Linked DNA regions of Homo sapiens: region 2 is linked to region 1. The links are contacts of gene promoters, found by promoter capture Hi-C in blood cells and fetal thymus (Javierre and others, 2016). All regions are on one chromosome and are shown on one strand. Each heading gives the region's core, a stretch centred on a gene start or on the middle of the fragment in contact. The rest is flanking DNA. Distances are from core to core; before and after follow the strand shown. Region 1 holds the start of EMP1 (epithelial membrane protein 1). Region 2 overlaps GSG1 (germ cell associated 1).

The links. Contacts are between HindIII fragments. The CHiCAGO score rates a contact against its expected background, and 5 or more counts as called.
Region 2: a contact is called between a fragment that was not itself captured here and the fragment with the promoter of EMP1 in region 1, in 4 of 17 cell types (monocytes, M2 macrophages, naive CD4 T cells and 1 more). The highest score is 8.2, in monocytes.

Annotation. Positions count from the first base shown.
Region 1 is chr12:13,194,021-13,200,364 of GRCh38, forward strand. EMP1 (epithelial membrane protein 1) reads left to right here and starts at 2,706. Exons shown (of 5, transcript NM_001423.3): 1 at 2,706-2,852. RefSeq lists an enhancer at 4,746-5,246. The HindIII fragment of the contact is 10,564 bases long and covers 1-6,344 here.
Region 2 is chr12:13,082,335-13,088,678 of GRCh38, forward strand. It overlaps GSG1 (germ cell associated 1), which reads right to left. Exons shown (of 7, transcript NM_001080555.4): 5 at 5,573-5,725; 6 at 4,818-4,929; 7 at 1,198-2,909. The coding sequence ends at 2,567. It overlaps FAM234B (family with sequence similarity 234 member B), which reads left to right. Exons shown (of 13, transcript NM_020853.2): 13 at 1-1,115. Among named protein-coding and RNA genes, the nearest start is that of GSG1, 18 kb to the right of the region's middle. RefSeq lists enhancers at 2,270-3,469, 4,459-5,281, 5,282-6,103, 6,104-6,344. The HindIII fragment of the contact is 4,641 bases long and covers 709-5,349 here.

The DNA of each region.
Region 1 (6,344 bases), core at 1,456-3,955:
GCTTTCCCAGACTGGATAACTTTGTTTTATAAAATAAGCTCAGTGATATTTCAAGGGTTAATTATAAGTCTTTAGAAATCCTGGACTTGCATTCATCTTTTAAAAATATTTACACAACTTGGCTTTCTATGGCACCACTCTGTGTGTGCATGTGTGCATGTGTGTGTGCGTGCATGTGTTTTTGCATGTGTGCATGGGTGTGTTTTCACAGCTCAATGCATTTAATATTTTCTCTCCAAACCTAGACATCTCCAAAAGCACACAGGAAGGTGAGATTTATCAGACCCATTTGGAAGGTGATGCTGTCTACTCACTTTAAGGTGAAATGGAGGCAGGCAGATGCCTCGCTCACAGCCACTGCCAGGTAGTAGGCGTGGAAACTGGGCCTCCTGCTTTCTGGGTCCTGTTTTGAAGCCCGTCCCTGAGCCCAGCGTCTCTCTTTGTGAAATCCATGGAAATCCAGATAGACTGAAGGATTCCTCTACTCAAGTACTTTAAGAAAAGTTCCTGATTTTTCCCCTTGTTAAGCCCGAGAAGGAGGTGGGAGGGAGAATGCCTCCCCTCTGCTATTCCTTGGCTCCAGGTTTCTCTTTAAGAAATGCAATCAGACCACATACTCCTCAGCATCTGAGAACACTTCCTCTGGAGTCCAGTTCTCCTTTCCAGGCAGCTGAGGGAAGAGAGACTTTAAAACTGGCAGAGGGCATCAGGGGTGAAAGGCAACCCTGAGAGTAGGAAAAGGCCAGGGAGACAGGCCGATTCCAGCAGGGGAGACTGGCCCATCTGGAGCGCCAGCACATGCCTGGGGATTTCCTGGCCTCACCTGCAGACACCCTCCCCTCCCTGAGGGTTGGGATGCTCAGAGATCACAGGGACTCTCAACCCACTGCTGGGAGTGGCCCCTCTCAGACAGGCATTTTTATTATCAAATGAGCAATGAGAGAGGGGAGAGGTGAGGAACTCTATGAGAAACATGCAGTCTTTTATCACGTCATCAGTTTTCAGTGAGAAAATCCAGACCTTCTTACTTTTACAGAGATAGAATTCAGTTCTCAGGGACTTGTGAAGATGCAGCATCATCAAATCATTGTGTGTGTGTGTGTGTGTGTGTGTTGTGTTTTCCTTATCATCCACCTTAGAAAATATTCTCCACATTCCCATGTTAAAATATTTTTTCCTAAAATCCATCCATCCACATGCCAACATCCTAAAGACAGTAATATAGGTTCATTGCAGAGGATTTGGAAAATACAGAATTGTGACCAGAACAAACTAAACTGCATCCATAATTTTATCATCGAATTTGATCAACATTTTGGTGAATAGCCACCAGTCTGTTTTCTATCTTTTTAGGGAATATAAGTTCCAAGAGGCAGGGATGTCATTCACTTCTGTGACTCAGTGCTCTGAATCAGGCCCAGTGAAGACTGACGTGCAGCCTGTATTGGCAGAATGAATGAATAAATACTACACACGCATATTTTGAATTGAAATAAGTTGTCAGGGTGCAGCAGAGAATAACAGAAATAGAATTGCTTGGATGTGCTGACCTAGATCCAAGCTGCTACTGGTAACGTACTGTATCTCCTTGAATAAGTCACTTCACCTCTCTGGGCCTGAGCTGCTTCTTCAGTAAAATAATCCTTGTAGCTAAGATTTGTTGAGCGCTCACTATGCACACTGCCATGAGCCCCTATATGTGTATTTCTCATCATAGCTCTATGAGTTACATACCTGCCATCTCCATTTTATGCATGAGAAAATAGGCATGGAGAAGTTAAGTGGTTTGCCTAAAGTCACACAGCAAATTTGTGGAGAGCTGGGCTTGAACTCAGGCATCTGGGCTTTTACTCTCTCCAGTGGAATGCCTGGGCTGTGGGATGAGATGACTTCACAGGCCTCTCCCAGCTCCAGAGTTGAGAGAGAGAGAGGAGTGGTGCAGGGAGGTAGTAGGGATGATTATGCTACTGGCCAAGTTCAAGAAAGTCAATTGTAGAACAAGGTCCAGCTGATTATTACAGAGAGCAAAGTTCTTAACTAGAGGACTTCCTCCTGGAATGTGGAGAGTCCACACGGGCACTAGCAGAGCATAATGAAAGACCAGGAATTCTCTGCTGTTCAATCAGTGCTCCATCACTCAGAGGCAGGGCTGCAAGAGCTCCTAGTGTGTCCCCTTCGCCTTCAGGGCCTCCCTGTACAGCCACCCACAGGACAGTGCACCAGGGTCAGGCAGGGAAGTAAATAAAAAAAGGAATCTGATAATTCCTGACAGTGAGCAGCAGCTGATGCTTTTAATGGGGGAGGAAGACTGGGAATCTCGCTTGATGATGACCTAGGACTTCAGTCAGCAGGACACTGGCCCCTTTCCTCCCCCTCCCAGGCTGAAACCTTGTGTTTTGCCTTATGTCCATGGTAACCAAGTCTCCTTTTTGGTGAGGAGGAATGGGCTTCAGTAAACAGATCTATTTGTGTGATCCTGTTACTCATTTGAAGCAATGTCCCTCCTTTTTTCCACTGTGGTCTGTGTGTCTGAGTCAGAGAGAGCCTACAACAGGGTTCTTTGAATTGATGGCTCACTCCCAGCCACTCTTGACTGACTGCCAGCTTAGCAGGGCGTAGCTTACCAACAAATCTTTTTTTTTTTTTTAAAGCCAGACTGATTCATAGAAACTCCTTTAAAACACGGTGAAAAGAAACCGCCCATTACACACCCCAGTACACCAGCAGAGGAAACTTATAACCTCGGGAGGCAGGTCCTTCCCCTCAGTGCGGTCACATACTTCCAGAAGAGCGGACCAGGGCTGCTGCCAGCACCTGCCACTCAGAGCGCCTCTGTCGCTGGGACCCTTCAGGTAGGACAGCTCCCAACGCTGTGGGGACTCTCAGCAAAACTTCTCCTTCCTTTCCACGGCTCTGCTTCTTCTGACCTCATCTTAGTTTTGCTTTTTCTTTTCTTCCTTCGCTATTTTTCTATGATCCTCTAAGAACCAAGTCCTTGAAACTTTTGGCTCAAAGTGGATACAGAGACAACTTTTTCTAGAAAGTTCAGAAAAGTGTATTTTGAGGACGGAGTCTGGGGAAATCAATGGGATGGGGCTAAAATCGTGCCTGGCAGTGACCGGGTTCTTGTTCTAGGATGTGGAGGGAGCAGGGACTTTGAAACAAACTGGGATAGGATCCTGTTTATGGAGGAAACACCACACACCTTGGAAATGACATCGGGAACTGGCCAGATGTTTTTCACCTCCTCCGTTTTGATTCCGATTGCTTCAGGACTTGAACTGTTACTCTGCTCGCTGGTTGTTGGTTGGGATTTTTTGGGTGGTGGTGGATAGATAACTGGTTTTCAGTTTATTTTTGACATTGCTTTTCCTGCCTGTTTGCTTCCCTATTCACTTCTGTTTAAATTTAAGTATTTTTTTTCTCCTCACAGGATGGGAAGAGGGGGATTGGTTTGTTTAAAGAAAACTGTTGGCCGGGCACGGTGGCTCATGCCTGTAATCCTAGCACTTTGGGAGGCTGAGGCGGGCGGATCACCTGAGGTCAGGAGTTCAAGACAAGCCTGGCCAACATGGTGAAACCCTGTCTCTACTAAAATACAAAAAGTAGCCAGGCATGATGGCAGGTGCCTGTAATTCTAGCTACTTGGTAGGCTGAGACGGGAGAATTGCTTGAATCCGGGAGATGGTGGTTGCAGTGAACTGAGATTGCGCCACTACACTCCAGCCTGGGCAGCTGAGTGAGACTCTGTCTCAAAAAGGAAAAAAAAGAAAAAGAAAAAAAATGAAAAAAGAAAACTGTTAGAGAGAGAAAGAGAGGGAGGCAAATGGTGTTTTAAATGAAACGTGGGAGGGGTTCACTTGGTCGAAGCAGGAGCTGATGAGGATTCCAGATGCCTTCTCTTGGCCAGATGTGGAGGGCGGGGGAGGCAAAAGGGAAGCTGGGTTTGGAGAAGAGGGTGGGGCAGGAGAACTTCATCTGTGCCTGTTAAAAATTGTTGAGTGGCTTTGTGCTTTCACCCCAGAAAGAGCTGCCTTTCAGTGCTGAGTGAAAAGATGGCATACCAGAAACGATAAAAGAACTTTTAAAAGAAAGTGGATGTGGAATTTCTTTGCATGGAAGGCAGTGATTGTTTTGAAATGCTTATCTTTTCTCTTGTTCCCGAAATGTGATTGTATAAATGCAAACACTCATGCTAATCATGAAATCTGGAGGAATGAAGAAGGGTGCTTTTTCTTTTTTTTCTTTTTTTCTTTTTTTCGGTTAGCATTTTGGGTGAGTGTCTACCGAGGTGTGGCCCATTTCAACATAGACACTGGTATATTTTTTCCCCAAGTAAACAAGATGAGAATGACAGGATTCAGCTTGTCTGACAAAGTTAGGCTTTTCCTTTAGAAAGGCAGTACGTTGGGAGAGAAGTTACATGTAATCAACCCTGTGTTGAGCAGGCAATGCTCCTTGTAAAACTGCCCCAAGGGGGACGATTGAGTAGGCATCAGGGCAACTTTTCAAGATGAAGGGAACTCCTACATTTGCTTCACATGTTTATTATTTCCACATTACATGGATGTGGATTAGCCATTATTAAATCAATAGTGTTAATATCCTGTGAAAATTATACAAATCTTTTAGTTCTGTGCAGGTTAAAACTAATAACCAGTCAACACACGGAAAGCCCTGACAATGTTGGGAGTGTAAACCATCATGAACTGCATTATTTGTGGCAAGGTTTCACATGATACTGTAGGTTTATAAAGGAGAAAATATGCTACATGTTACTTCCTGGAGTTTGAAGACAATTTAGAAAAATACCGTTCTGATTCCTGCTCTCTGCTCTTCCTCCAAGAAGTAGTGAAAGAGTCCCTTAGCTGTGAGAGTTTTTCTGGATTTCAGCTTTGACAATCCCGAAATGTGAGGGTTATTTTTCCCCCCCACTCTGCCCGCTGCCTCCCACCCTCAGGGGCAGATCCAATTCCACCCAGACTCCGAAGAATGGGGCGGGGGCGGGGGCTGCAGGACATCCTGTCTGGCGCCCTGGTCAGAGGGCCCCCCACATTTACATTGTTTGTGGGTACTAAACTGTCTTGGGAGTTGGCAAAAGGCCATCAAGAACCAACTTGGAGCAAATCACATCCTTAGAATCTGGCTATCTCCCAGGACTGCTGGGCAGACCGCTGGGGAAAGGAAAGAGATCCCTTCTGTGGAGAGTGGAAAGGACTCACTGTGCCTTCCTCAGCCCTTCCTGCTTCCTCCAGAGACCAGATTAGGCCCATCAAGTTCCCAGCCTTGTCAGTGGGCTTCATGGAGACCCCTCACCCGGGAATGTAGACCCTCTTGGCTTGCTCTGGGTGGCTCTAGGGATTTCAGGTAGTGCCAGACCCACAGGGACTACTGGAGAGAGACACGTTGAAGACCGGGGAAAACTTGTGGATGAGGCAAGACTGCTTTTCTGTAGACTCTATGGAGCCTGGTGGGGCACATAACTGAAACGTGGACACAGGAAAGGGCAGGAGGCAAGTCAGTTCCATTTCATCCTTCATTTCGTTCACAGAATTCTAAATTTGGGAGGGATCTTGGATCTCATTCATTCTCCTACTGTATGCAGAAATCTAATTTTTACACCATCTTGAACAGATGGCCATCCTACAGATCTTAAAATTTCCAGATGCGGGGAGCTCAGAACCTCAGTGTGTACCTCCACACTCATTCCCCTTAGCAGGCCAACTCTAATTTTATTAAAGTTCCTTAAATCAAGCAAAATCAACTTCCTTATAACTTCCTGATTCTGCTGGCCTGAAACAACTCAGAAAATATCTATTCTGGTTTTGTTGTTGCTCCACCCAATGATTCTCATCCTCTAAACACTTAACGCCTATTTAATATTTAATGAATACAACTTGATGGATCTACATTGCATTATCTTTTCTTCTTCTTCTTCTTCTTCTTTTTTTTTTTTTTTTTGCCTAAGGCTCAGAAGGGCAGGGAGCATTTTTGAAGTTTGGAATTATGTACATAGTCAATCATACTCACGGGGTTTTTGATTTGGAGGTATTTAATTTTCTAAATGCATGAATATGGTTCCTTCTTTAACCTCCCACATGTATGTACATAGCTGCCTAACACAAAAGCTCAGGCCTATTTGGGACTCTCAGATGTACATACTCGGAGGGACACACCCAGTGTTGCTACCTACTAGGTCATGGTTAGATCAATCCAATACCAGGACACAGGCTTCTAGCTAGGCCTTTTGGGGATTGTCCCATAATTTGGTCCATAGTTCATGTAGCCCACACCTATACATTGTCACCACCCATCATAGTAATTACGGGAACAGGCTGCCCATC
Region 2 (6,344 bases), core at 1,779-4,278, 110 kb before region 1:
CTCTGTTAATTACCCACTGACAGGCATTATGACCTAACAGGAGGTTGGTAGCAGTAGATCCAAGCATGCATGTTGCCTGGCCTGTAGATTGGCCTTATCAGGTTTCTGGGTGCCTCTGCCTTAAGATCCTGAAGGCAAATTTTGTTTCAACAGTTTGGAAGTCATCTGTGGGTCCAGCTTGACTTTGGAGGAATAAGAAGATACTTCTAGAGTATGGGAATGATTCCAGATAATTTCTGGGATTTGAATCTACTTGAGTTTAAGGGCCTGGGACCTAATTTGGTTTAGTATAGAATTTGAAGAATTAATTTATAGGCAGCTGAATACCCAAAACTTGGGTGGTGGTCCTGTGGTTTGGCTGAGCTGTCCGGGCATAACCTGGTTCTCTGTTATGTTAAGGCTTTCTGGGAAGCCAGCCACTCTGCGCAGGAGTGAAACATGAAGTTGTTTTCTGAGGACCTGTTTTGGTGGGATTGTTTGGGCAGAGGACTGTGTTTATGCAGGGCAAATCCCAGAAAGATAAGAGGAAGCTAGAGAAACTTAATGTACCTGAATTCTTCATGGTGTATTTGCAAACTAACTTAACATAGATTCTTTTGACTATGGTAAGTTTGAATCTCTCCTTGCCAAACAACATTATAAGTTTAGTTTTCTTCTTCCTCTTGCAGCCGGTACAGAAAGGTGTAAGTGGTGGCTGAAAATTGAGGAAGCTTCATCTGACCAATGTGGGTGCTGGTTTCTTGTGAAATGTGTCCCTAAGCCTCCTTCTCCTTGCAGGCAGCCACCCACCCAGGTGTCTAAGATAGGACATGCTCCTTTCTTTCTCTAATCCCATCCTGAGGTTGCCGGCAAAGCCAATATGACCACTACTGAGAAATAGTAATGACTTCTACAAATGCAAGGGTCTTACCCTCCTCTTTCCCTTAAACACCCTCCCTTTTCCTTAGACCCCGTTTTTGCCATCCCCCAAATGTGTGGTATGGTGAAACTAATCCCCTGAATGTGAATTGCTATCCTTATTGCCCTATTAAAGAAGAGCCAGCTGGTATATTGTCAGGAAGCACTATTTAAAATGTGAACTGTTATAGAGTAAATAAATAAATACTCTACAGGAATACACTTGTGTGCCATTCTCATTCGTCTTAGTCATCAAGGATGGTTTGTTTCCCCATATGGAAAAGAGAACGGGCAAGTAGATGGGTGGCATTCTTTTTTTTTTTTTTTTAAGTTCTAGGGTACATGTGCACAACGTGCAGATTTGTTACATATGTATACATGTGCCATGTTGGTGTGCTGCACCCATTAACTCGTCATTTACGTTAGTATATCTCCTAATGCTATCCCTCCCCCCTCCCCCCACCCCATGACAGGCCCGGTGTGTGATGTTCCCCACCCTGTGTCCAAGTGTTTTTATTGTTCAATTCCCACCTGTGAGTGAGAATATGCAGTGTTTGGTTTTCTATCCTTGCGATAGTTTGCTCAGAATGATGGTTTCCAGCTTCATCCATGTCCCTACAAAGGGCATAAACTCATCCTTCTTTATGGCTGCATAGTATTCCATGGTGTATATGTGCCACATTTTCTTAATCCAGTCTATCACTGATGGACATTTGGGTTGGTTCCAAGTCTTTGCTATTATAAATAGTGCCGTAATAAACATATGTGTGCATGTGTCTTTATAGCAGCATGATTTGTAATCCTTTGGGTATCTACCCAGTAATGGGATGGCTGGGTCAAATGGTATTTCTAGGTCTAGATTCTTGAGGAATCAGATGGGTGGCATTCTTTATGAAGGAAATAATAGGGTACATTTCTCAGAAGGGATGAAAAGGTGGGATCCAGAGAGGAGCCTATGCCCCCTTGTTCACTGGGAAGTCCCTGGTGTGACTGTCCAGAAGGGAACCACAGTCCAATCTGAATAGCCTTGGTGGGCTATTTCTAGAAGTGACCCTGACCCTGTGTGCTGTTGGCGCCTTCTCATGTTAAACCACTCTCCTAAGGGCTCCTGGGACAATATTTAATAACACTTTTACTGGGTACCTACTGTGTGGATGCAGGACACTGTCCCAGGCAGTGTGGAGGACTTCTGTGCTATATGACAAAGCACTCAGGGGCGCTTCTGTCTTCCCATCTGTGACTTCCAGAACAATTCGCGCGTACCATGGAAAGTTGAGCCACAGTCACACTACCGTTAATTTGCTCACCTCCATTTCTCCAATTTCCAGACCAATAACTAGATGTATCAGATCCTTAAGGTCGGGAAGTGTATTTTACTCTTCTTTTTATCTCCATGGTTTAGCCCAGAACCTGGCACAGAAACTATCAGTAAAGAAGGGAATTCTGGATGTGTGAGATGTGGGGTGGGTGAAACAAGATGGAGCTGTAGAGGAAAAGAGAGCAGTGGCACCCAGGAATCCCTTAGGACTTAAAGATAACCCTTATTCATAGCCTTATTCGTAGCCTCTAAAAACCATGCTCAAGAGACGGATGTTGGCTTAAGCACATGTTGATAATCAGCAGACGTGTAAGGTAGGGCTCAAGCCTACTCCCCAAACCCGCTTAACTCCTAACACTGCTCTTCCTCTACAGATGACCTAACTGCTTCTTTCAGCTCCTGGCTGGCCCCTCTTTGAAATCCCTTGTTCCGCAGCTCGGAGTAGAAGTCGACTCCCTCAGAGACAGAGTGGATGGGCTGATTATGATACTGGTGGTAGCTGGTCAAAGGACCCACGGTGGGGGCTGCACTTGACAGCCGCCGAGGGAAACACTGATGGTGATGTGGTAGGCAGTTCGGGTTTTCCTTGAAGCTCTTACTATGCTTGCACTTGAACTCCAGCACCATCCTGGTGTACGTGTTGAAGGTGGTGACAGCCGACGCCATGCAGCAGGTGAAGGAGAGCCAGGCCATGCTAGGGACAAATGCACAAAAAGATTGGACAGTAAGAATAGGACTTTCTTGAGAGAAAAATGCCATGACCTCTTCCTACTAGTGGACTAGCTTATTGCCTTGTAGGGATTTAGGGACTTTCCACCATGTTTCAGGTAAAGAACTGTGGGAAGAGAACTTACTGGTTTCTAAAAAGAGAATGACTCATGTAGTCCTAGTATCAGACAAGGAGCTTAATGGATTTGTTTTCACTGAATTGATGAGTTGTCGGTGCCATGCCCTTTTCTATCTGGTGTGCCTATTGTGTGTGTATGTCTGTGCATATTTGGACTCCTGTTTCCCAAGCTGCATTGACCCTTGTAAAATCTCCAAGATTCCCCAGGCCTGAAGCTGAGCTGTATGCAGTGGACATAACCTACTGCATACCCTCCCTCTCCCACCCCAACACACACACACATGCCCTGCCAAAGATGTCCCCCCACTCAGATGCTGGGAGGAATCATCCCTCTTCCATCTTCCTTTGTTTTGAACTTAGCAGTCTTAGGGTCCAAAAAGGTGAGCCTCTGAAAGTCATTCAGGAAAACATTTACTACAAATCAGGAGGTATTATAGGTTGTACTAGTGGAATTTGCTTCATATGGAAACAGTGTGGTTTTGGCTTAAGGGAGTTTGTAATGGGTGGGAGAGGAGCTGGAGATTAAGAGAATGTGGATGGATTCAAGAAAGGAAAAGAAGACATTAGGCAACCATATTAAACACATTCCTGAAAACTTGGAAAGTCAAATCCCTAAATCTCCCTGTGGTTCTGGGAAGCTCAGGAAACAGGAAGTTTTGTGAGGTTAGGGAGGGATTTCATGAGGCCAAGTGATGGTTAAAGCCAGGTCACATGCGGGCACTGTGTGTTCATATCTGCTGCCTCTGACAAATGCAGTAGGTTCAGTCTGGGATGCTTCTGGGAGTTGACTAATGGGCGTTGCCTAGCCTGAGCTCCACAGCCGTTAATGCCAAGAATGGCCTGAAGACAGACAAAAGGTGAGAAGTGCTGGATCTGGGAGCTGCATTGAGCTGATGCCCTGGCTGGTGTAGTAGACTCAGACTCCCAAATTATTAGCGCAGATTGTACCACAGGAAAGGGGATAGGGCCTCACAACAGACTTGCAGGCTTCCTTCCCCGAATGGAAACTTGAGCCCATCACTGTGTCTTTTCAGTGCTCTCAAAGTACTTAGCACTTAGACAGTAAATATCAGTACAAGTTGGCAACTTGCTGTGAATAAAGAGTGCTCCTTAAGGGAGAAAGTAAGAGCTCTCAAAGATAATATTTAACTTGAATGTGTTGCTTTGTGATGGTTGCTGTCGCTCTCTTTTTAAGAGAACTCTAAAATGACTGACCCCTTAGTTCTTTAAGGGTTAGAGAATGACCCTAGGGTAGTGAAGTTTTATTTCCAACACGGTTCAGTAGAATAAAAATGGATATAGAAGGAAGTGAAGAGGAGAGGAGTAAGCCATTTACAGAGAATGCAATTCAATCCAAATTTCAAAGCGATTTCTCTATTTCTCTGTTCTCTAATACCTTGAATCATAAAAAAAAGAAAAAAAAAGAGCACATTTCTATAAGGCCTACAGAATCAGTCTTGTTTCCCCAGGGTGACAAATATACCAGGTAAAGAGGCAACTGCCACAGCTGATGAGCAGGAAAACTGGACAAAATAACATCCTCCCAAGACACACTCGAGGAATCCTTCCTGTACCCCCTCAGAAGGCAGGGAAGAATGGATGTGCCCTGATGATGCAGCCCTGTGTGGTTGACAGGCTCTTGGGATGAGGGATGAAGAGAAGGCAGGGCTTCACCGAATAAGCATCTAGCTGAGGGCAGAAAATCTCGTGAAGGTTGGCTGGGGCTACAAAGGTTCAGGAGATGACAGCACTTACTAGAAGGCCCAGCCATAATTCCAAACATGTGGTCTCCAGTCTTCTGGACCCAAGTTGACAGTCGCTTGGAAGACTTGTGAATACATCATGTGGGCCACCATCCCCAGGAGACCTACCAAGGAAACAGGAAGGCAGAGCCCTTAGAGAAAGGCTTTCATGCCATCTGCCAGGAGTACGATTTTGGATCACCCTTCTTGCAGTCAGGCGCAGCCTCTGTTGGAGTAGCCCATTACCCTATGCCACCACATTTCCCGAAGACTAATTCACAATGGGGGCTTCTCCTTAAATACACATCTTTGCAATAGGTGACCCCAGACTGTAGGCTGAGAGCTATGGAAAAAGTCTGAGTCAAGGCTGCACCCAAGGCCACTGCACACCACCCCTACTCCTTCCCACCCACACCCCAATGTTGGCTTAATTCTTCATCTTATATGTGCATCTTTCACTTTATCCAATGGAGACTGGTCTTGAAAAGCTGTGTGTATGTCACAACTGAAAAGTAACCCAAACAATAGATTTTACATATTGAGAAAGCTTGCAAATAAAGGAACCTAGAGGTAAATCATTTTGTAAAGTACACGGTGATCCAATATACAATTTTGTATGTTACTTCAATTTAAAATTAAAGATGCCTACCTCCATTCTTTAAAGAGCCTTTGGGCTCCTCCCCTTCAGGGCAAAGACTCAAGCCCTCCAGCTAGGGCTTCAAAAGTGGCCAGGGCCAACCACCCTCTCTCACTCCAGGAGCAACTCACCTGACAGGACAGAGGAAACAGCAGCAAAGGCGCTCAGTTTGAGCCCACAGGCAGGGTTCCCAGTGAGTAGCAAGTCTGTTAGTAGCAGGAGGAAGCTGATGAATTGAAGTCCGATGTAGGTGATCTGCGTTCCCAGGGATAACCATAGGATTTCTGCCAGAAACCAGAGGAAGAGGGAGCGCTCACCCTGACAGTTAAAAAACTGAATAAGCGGTGAGCATAGGATGCCTATTAGGAGTTAAGACCCTAGCAGCATCTGAGAAGGGGAGAATGAGGCACAGCTGAAACCAGGGAGGAACATTACTTCATTTCTAGTCCTTTGACGTCACTCACAGCTCCCACTCCATAACCAATATATACCCAAGTAAGCTTGACTGACTGTAAATACTGTTGGGGAGATTTGAGAAGAAATCATCGAATTTTCATAAATCCTGCAGGGAAATAATGTTGCTCTAGTTATCATTTTTTGTCTTTTTCCTCATTTAATTTTGGGGTGGTTCCCTCCCTGCCTCCCTTCTTCACTCTTTTCCTTTCATTTTACCAAATAATAATAATAATAGTGGAGAAAAAGGAGGAAAAAGCTAAGCCTTCCTACATGGTTACTTGGCAACAAGAGTAGGTTAGCACTGTTGGTGGTTTTCTATTTGTGAATCTTATTTATCCCTGCTGTTCTGTTTTTGCATTCCTGCATATGAATGAAAGTCAGCTCAAGGAGGAATTTGTGTCACCCTTTGGGGCTCAGAAGAGAAAAGTGGGAGATCACAGTGCAGTT